Linked DNA regions of Homo sapiens: region 1 is linked to region 2. The links are contacts of gene promoters, found by promoter capture Hi-C in blood cells and fetal thymus (Javierre and others, 2016). All regions are on one chromosome and are shown on one strand. Each heading gives the region's core, a stretch centred on a gene start or on the middle of the fragment in contact. The rest is flanking DNA. Distances are from core to core; before and after follow the strand shown. Region 1 overlaps PLEKHH1 (pleckstrin homology, MyTH4 and FERM domain containing H1). Region 2 holds the start of PLEK2 (pleckstrin 2).

The links. The method cuts DNA at HindIII sites, captures the fragments that hold promoters and counts their contacts. A CHiCAGO score of 5 or more calls a contact.
Region 1: a contact is called between a fragment that was not itself captured here and the fragment with the promoter of PLEK2 in region 2, in 12 of 17 cell types (naive B cells, M0 macrophages, fetal thymus and 9 more). The highest score is 9.1, in naive B cells.

Annotation. Positions count from the first base shown.
Region 1 is chr14:67,581,292-67,585,142 of GRCh38, reverse strand. It overlaps PLEKHH1 (pleckstrin homology, MyTH4 and FERM domain containing H1), which reads right to left. Exons shown (of 29, transcript NM_020715.3): 24 at 2,933-3,074; 25 at 1,260-1,402; 26 at 1,019-1,148. It also overlaps a transcript of GPHN not described here. Among named protein-coding and RNA genes, the nearest start is that of PIGH, 17 kb to the left of the region's middle. RefSeq lists a silencer at 815-864. The HindIII fragment of the contact is 3,102 bases long and covers 212-3,313 here.
Region 2 is chr14:67,409,977-67,413,625 of GRCh38, reverse strand. It overlaps PLEK2 (pleckstrin 2), which reads left to right and starts at 1,461. Exons shown (of 9, transcript NM_016445.3): 1 at 1,461-1,608. The coding sequence starts at 1,567. It also overlaps a transcript of GPHN not described here. The HindIII fragment of the contact is 5,074 bases long and covers 1-3,649 here.

The DNA of each region.
Region 1 (3,851 bases), core at 513-3,012, 170 kb before region 2:
GCCAATCTCCTAGGTGCTGTAAAAGAAATAGGAAAGCAAGAATGCAGTCCTGTGGCTTTAGGCCCTATCAGTAAGAAAGTGACTATTTAGTGGACATTCCTGTAATGACTAATTTTCACTGCCAGGACTACAGTATGGTAATCCAGAAAATCTCTCTCTTAACCCAAAGGGAGGCAGATAGACATTGGACATGCCACCTTTTTCAGAAGCTTTTCCTAAGCTCCCAGACCAAGTGGGTCCCTGTTATATGCCTTTATAACACCTCTGTACATCTTCATAGCATTTGTGATGGCTTATAAATATATATTAAATACATAGAGAAAAAAATGAATACGATTATTTGATGAATATACATCTCCTGCACTAGATGGGAAGCTCCAGGAAGGCAAGGACTGTGTCTGATTTTCTCACTTCTTATAACCTCAAACAACCAGCACTGGACATAGTAGGAGCTCAACTATTTGTTGAATGAATGAATGGCCATTTTCCGATCTGTGGCTTCAGTAAACAGGATCACTGCCCAGCTTTGAGCTGTAATTATCTATAAAGTTTATGCACAACAGACACCCAGTGAAGAAAAGTTCCTTCTGAAATTACTGTTGGCCACCTGGCCTTCATACAGAGGTGAAATTAACTGTTGGCTAAGTAATTTGATTCCCCTGTATGCCATGTCAAACCAGTGGAGATGTATTTGTTTAGGTTATACATTGTTCTTTCAAACTTTAAAAAAAATGAAAGCACTCTTGAGAGGGCTGTTATTTCAAGTCTGAATCTTTGTGTGTGTGAATTAGTTGATCACATCTTTTCTTTTGGGGCAGTCAACAAAGGACAAATGAAGATAAGCAATCACAATTCTGCTCTGGACTGTGGAAAGCTGGACTAGGCCAGAAACAGTGGAGGGATAGTGACCTCTGGTGGTTACTGGTATGGAGGTAGGGGCTGCAAATTGGTATGGCTCAAACATGAGCAGTTGGGGACACACCTAAGGGTGTGGGCAGCTCCTTCCACTGGCACTTACCTGAGCAGCAAAAAGTTTAGCACCAAAGAAAGGCCATTTCCTGGCCACGGTCAGGTAGATGCGGATGCACTCAGGAGGGGAGCATCCTTGCAATGTTGCCCATTTTGTGGTCAACATATCTGCCAGGTGCCTGGTGTGGGCAGATGGAGAGAAATAGTGCCAATGAAGTGCCGACGTGTCTTCATTCCAGGCCTGAGACCTCCCCACAGTGACTTGCTGCAAGACCTTGTAGCCTACCTACCTCAGCTGTTCAGCGGGGGCCCCATGTCTATAGCGCCTGGGGTGGAACCTGTCTAGGACCTGCTGGAGAAGATGCTGAGCCTTGGCAGGGGATGTGCCTCCAGGGCCTGGCAGGGCAGGCTTCTCCAAGTCCCCATATTCTACCTGTGGTAGAAGCATATGAAGAGACCAGTCAAAATCTGACAGTGGATGGGCCAGGTGGGGGCTGTTGAGAGGTGAAATAAACCATTTCTTTATTACCCTATTGGTGGGGTGCGAGTGGTTGTGAAAAATACTTTAGAAAAACGCTTCATCTCAAGTTTTATAGACACTAGAGAAACAAACTTAGGGCCCTCGAATATTAGAGATCACCGACCAACTTTGATTTTGCAGCTGAGGTGAAGTGCCTTTTCCAAAGACACAGTTAATTGGTAGCCGACAAGGGAAAACAATGTGGAAATTCTGGCTTCCAGTCCAAAAATATGGGCTATAGAATTGAAGATGCTACAGATCCTAGAGTACAGCAGAGTGTTCCAAATGTGGCCTTTGGAGTTGGACACCTGGCGCAAATCCCAGCTTTGTGTCCCTGATCAAGTTACTTAAACTCTCTGAGCTTCAATTTCCTCATCTATTAGGTGGGAATAAAAACTACAATGGAGGATGCATATATGCTTAGTACAGGGCCTCCTAGAGAGTATTCCTATTGATATTTATAAAGATCAACTATTACTGTTTCCTCTTCCTTTCCAGCATGTAAATCCAGATTCTTATTCTTTTTTAAAAATTTTTAATTTTTAATTTTTGTGGGTATATAGTAGGTGTCAGACTCTCTTATGGGAGTCATGAAGGTATCCCAGATACCTTTGGCAAGATGGCCTTCTAAATATAATGGGAAGGAGAGTCCAAGTCTGAATGTGTGTTCCTCTTCCTAAGTCTACTTAGAAGGTCTGATGGTTTATGAAGTTTACCACATACATTACATGATACAATTATCCAGGTATCATACTTAGTACAACCCTGTGGAGGCTGGCAGAGGTTTTTGTTTGTTTGTTTGTTTTGTTTTGTTTTGAGACAGAGTTTTGCTGTTGTCGCCTAGGCTGTAGTGCAATGGCATGATCTTGGCTCACTGCAACCTCTGCCTCCCAGGTACAAGTGATTCTCCTGCCTCAGCCTGCCGAGTAGCTGGGATTACAGGCGCCCACCACCACACCCAGCTAATTTTTATTTTTATTTTATTTTATTTTATTTTTTTTCAGTAGAGACAGGGTTTCACTGGTCAGGCTGGTCACGAACTCCTGGCCTCAGGTGATCTGCCCGCCTCGGCCTCGCAAAGTGCTGACATTACAGGCATGAGCCACTGCTCCCGGCCAAGTATTTTTTATTTTGGTATACTGAGAAGGAAACTAAAGCATAGAGAAGTGAAGTGACTTGGCTAAGACCTCATAGTTGGAAGGTATATAGGACTCAAACCCAGGTCTCTGGATTCCAAGTCCAGCCATCTGCACGCATCCTATATCTGCGGTGAGTGAGGAGCTCTGATCTGTAGAAGTCAGCTGCTTTCCATCCCAGAGATGGCAAAGCTGCCCTCTCCTGAGCACCACAGGATCTGCAGAATCTCTCCTGTGTTTCAGGCTGCATGGTGCATTCATTCTAAGCTGGCAACCCGACCCTCCTGCTTCCTGAACAGAACCTTACCTGGGCCATCAGGGCAGCCATCTCAAGAGCCAATTCCTTGTTGATAGGAAACCTCCCTGCCACTATCTCTCTACTGGTTTGAGAGGCAAGGAGCAGCCGTTCTCGGTCCGTCTCCCCTTTGACTTGACTGCGAAAGTACAGCCTACAAAGAAGAGAATAAGAAACCAGGACTCAGCAGGGATTCCAAACAGGGATGGGGCTTTCTCTGGGTCTGTTACCTTTATTTCCAAAAAGATAAAGTACTCTTTTCCCACTATTTATGAGCCTATTTTGTATTGCCTCCAGAAACATATAACCGAGTATGACACAGAGCAGATGCAGGGTCATGCTGATCTCATACCAACAGGAGGGCATGGTTCATTCTGAAGATACCATTAAGCTTACTGGATTTAGTAAGGGAAATCTGGTACCTGGAGTTATAGATTAGGGGACTGGATGAGGTAAGAGTCCAAGAGACTACTGGAAACTATTTGCCTGGAGACATACTGAGATGGAGGGATGGGATTTTCTTACTCAAATTGATAGAAAGTCAGGATGTCTACTTCTGTATTTCCTGGAATTGGTATAGGAAGTACTTAGTCTTTAGCTATAACTAGCTGGTGCTTATACAAAATTTCACTCTCATAAAGTAACACACTTAGCCATCCCATGAGGTTGGTCTATTTTCTATTCTTTTCTTTTTTTTGAGGCAGGGTCTCACTCTGTTGCCCAGGCTGGAGTGCAGTGGCGTGATCTCAGCTCACTGCAGCCTCAACCTCCCAGGTTTAAGTGATCCTCCCACCTCAGCCCCCCTGAGTAGCTGGGACTACAGGTACATGCCACCATGCCCAGCTAATTTTTGCATTTTTTGTAGAGGTGGGGTTTTGCCATGTTGCCCAGGGTGGTCTGGTCTGTTTTCTTGGCAGATGTTTGTGTGTGT
Region 2 (3,649 bases), core at 212-2,711:
CTACTACAGACATGTAGAAGCAACACTGTGTCAAGAGCTCCAGGGCAGGGACTGGCCTGGGAGCTGGCTTCAGTCTGGTTCTGAAAGGCACCCCCCGCCTTCCACAAGCTGGTTCACCTTCTTCCTCTCTAGAGCCTTCTCTTCCCTTACAGGCATCTGAGGGCCTTTCCCATGCCTGGTGAAGAGTCCTGACAGGGCCCTTCAAACTGGAGCACAAATAATATGGACCGGCCCCATGACTCATGCCCACAATCCCAGCACTTTGGGAGGCTGAGGCAGGAGGACTGCTTGAGCCCAGGAGTTCGAGACCAGTCTGGACAATATAGTGAGACCCTGTCTCTATAAATAAAAATAAATTTTAAAAAAATGTGTGACTGTGTTCTAAGGATTGTTAGACAGAATCAGTACTATTTGACTGAGTTTCCTTCTGTTCCAGGCTCCAATATGGCCTGATAGAACATTGTTGTTGATCCTATCTATTTAAAATGTTAGCATTTTGTTCATCGTGGATTTTTTGACATTAATTTTGATTTTAAAAAATGCATTAAAATATTATTTTTCTAGGTCTTACACGGTGGCTCTTGCCTGTAATCCCAGCACTTTGGGAAGCCCAGGCCGGAGGATTGCTTGAGGCCAGGAATCAAGACCAGCCTGGGCAACATAGCAACACCCTATCTCTACGAAAAATAAAAATAAACCAGCCAGGCATGGTGGTGCACTCCTGTAGTCCTAGCTACTTGGGGAGCTGAGGCAGGAGGATCTTAAGCCCAGAGTTTAAGGCTGCAGTGAGCTATGATCACACCACTGCACTCCAGCCTGGGTGACAGAGAAAGACCCTGTCTCAAAAAACAAACAAAAAACCCCAAAAAACCAATCATCTCTCTCTATATATAATTTGTCTAGGTTACTGGACTCCTTGGTGCCCCCTTAAATTTTGTCCTTAATGATGGAATTTTCGGCTTCATCTTTTTTGAGGGAGCGGGGTATATCCTGCGGACAGGGGGCCCTGCAAACTGTGCCTGCCGCCTTAAAACTGTGACCTTCCTGTTACTGAGAGGTCTTCTCTGCCCCCATCAGAGGCCAGGATAAAATTCCCATACCAGTTTCGGCTCACCCACTGTCCCATCTCCTACTTGCAATGAGCTCAGGAATGGCTCCAAATCCTGGAGTCCTGTCGGTTATGTTCAATTCGATAAGCGTTCCTCGAGGGCAATGCGCTAAGTGCCCGGGAAGCACCTGGCGAAGGACGCTGAGCAGAGAGACTGGAACAGTGAGGGGCGCGGGGCGCACCTGGATGGGGCGGGGTTGGCCGCTCTGTACCTGGAGGACCAACCACCGACCCTGGAGCACCTTTGGGTGGAAACGTCACGTCAGAAATCCCGACTTGGTCTGACTTCCTGCCCCGGGGCCTCAGGCTCTGGACACGCGCCAGGGAGGCGTCGCCCTGCCGCGTCGGAGCTGCTTCCTGGGCGCCGTGGGCGCGGACTGCGCGGGCTGCGCGGGTGCCGAGGAGCGCGAGGCGCGGGGAAGGCGCACCTGGGGTGGCCCTGGCGTGCGGGCGGCGACATGGAGGACGGCGTGCTCAAGGAGGGCTTCCTGGTCAAGAGGGTGAGTGCGCGTCGAGCTTCGGGACATTGCCCGGGTGGGGCCCCGCCGACGCGGCTCCCTAGAGCGGGGCCAGACGCGCGCCCCGGAACGGGCATGCTCTGGTTCCCATCCCCAACCCCCATGGTGGGACCGGGCCGCCTGTGGCCCTGATGGGCAGAGCTGCATGTCCGAGGGGACGCGGGGTAAGCGGTGGCTCAGCGCACAGGCAAGGAGGAGAATCCCACTTGGTTAGCGCAGTATGGAGTCGGGGCAGGGGTACTGAAGCGTGTGTCTTAATTAAAACTTGTTAAAATATTATGAATGGTATGATATTTAAATAATATTTACTAAGATAATATAGGCGTGCTCTGTAATTTACAACCTGTGAAGGAGGAATGCTACTATGTGTCTTAAGCACTTACTGTTGGCCAGCCCTGGATATTGTCTCATGTCATCCTCCCAGCAGCCCTGCTTTCATCAAGGGGGAAAACGAAGCCCAGAGGAGTTAGGGAACTTGCTCGGGGCGGTGAAGGCAGTGGGTGGTGGAGCCAGGATCGGGATCAGACCCACTCAGGTTGACCCAAACCTTTACTGCCTCCCCAGTGCCATACACGGTGGGTACTGACATCACTCTATTACAGACGGGGAAACTGAGGACCAGAAAGATGAAGTAGCTTGCCCAGAGCTCCAGAGCCAGTAATAGCTGGGACAGGAACTGCATGTTCTGACCTCCCCTCCTCAGTCCTTCCCCACCACCCCAGGTGGCCCAGGGCAAACGAGTGCAAACAAAAACTCAGTGCCTGGGATTATGGTAGAAGATGAACAAAAGAGCAGCTGCAAAAGGAAGTTTGTTATTTCAAAATTTTTTCCTGATTTGACCTTTTTTTTTTTTTTTTTTTTTTGAGACAGGGTCACCCAGGCTGGAGTGCAGTGGCACAATCCTGGCTCACCACAGCCTCGACTTCCCAGGCTCAGGTGGTCCTCTCACCTCAGCTTCCCTAGTAGCTGGGACTACAGGTATCCACTACTATGCCCAGCTAATTTTTGTATTTTTTTGTGGAGACAGGGTTTCGCCATGTTTCCCAGGCAGGTCTTGAACTCCCGGGTTTAAGTCATCTGCCCACCTTAGCCTCCCAAGGTGCTGGGATAACAGGCGTGAGCCACCACACAGAGCGTAATTTGAACAATGACATTAACACTAACCATTTATACTGCTATGATGGCATAGCAAAGAGACATATAAATCCAGGGCTGAGCTTTCTGGTTCTTCTACTGAGTTTTCAGCTTTGGGAGGGGAATGAAGAGGGATGAGGGGCCCTTCCTTTCATTGCCTCCCGGGGTGGCTGGATCAGCCCTAAAGTCTCACATCACTTTCATTTTCCCCACAAAATGTGTCCACATGATGTTGCACGTTATTTGGTACAGGAGAGCGGTGGCTGTTTGCTGTAAACAGTAAGCAAGGAGGGTAGAAGCTGATGCCAGATCAAGGGTCAGACTGGATAGAGCAGTACAAAGCGCCACGCCCACTTGCCACTGTGGCTGAACTGATAGGCCGGTTTCTCGCAGCATGTGGAGGTGGCTGCACCTCAGACTACACATGGGGAGCTCCTAATCTCACATTTAACTGCGGCTTGGGAGGTGGGAGGGAGAGTGAGAGCTGGGCACGGGGCTTTTTGTTGGCACTGTTGATATAGCTGGGCCCTGGTAGAGCCTGTGGAGGGATGAAGTTAACATGGAGACAGATCCTTCTGATAGAGCTTTGGGAGTTTTGGAGGCCTTCTCCTGTTCCTGGGGGTTACCTTCCATCATTCCCTATCACCCCCACCATGCTGAGAGTCAGAGGAGGGCTAAGGGCAGAGCCACAGAGCTCCCAGGATATCACCAGGAGGATGGGACTTCTCTTCTGGGTGGCCTGGTTAGGGAATCCAGGGTGCAGAAAATGAGGAGAGTCAACAGATCTGGTCCCCGTAAGCCCTTGGAAAAGACGGGGCTTGGCTGAAATACCTAGAGCTCATTCCAGCCAGACCCAAAGACTGGGATGGAGCCTGACCCTGAGGCAAGC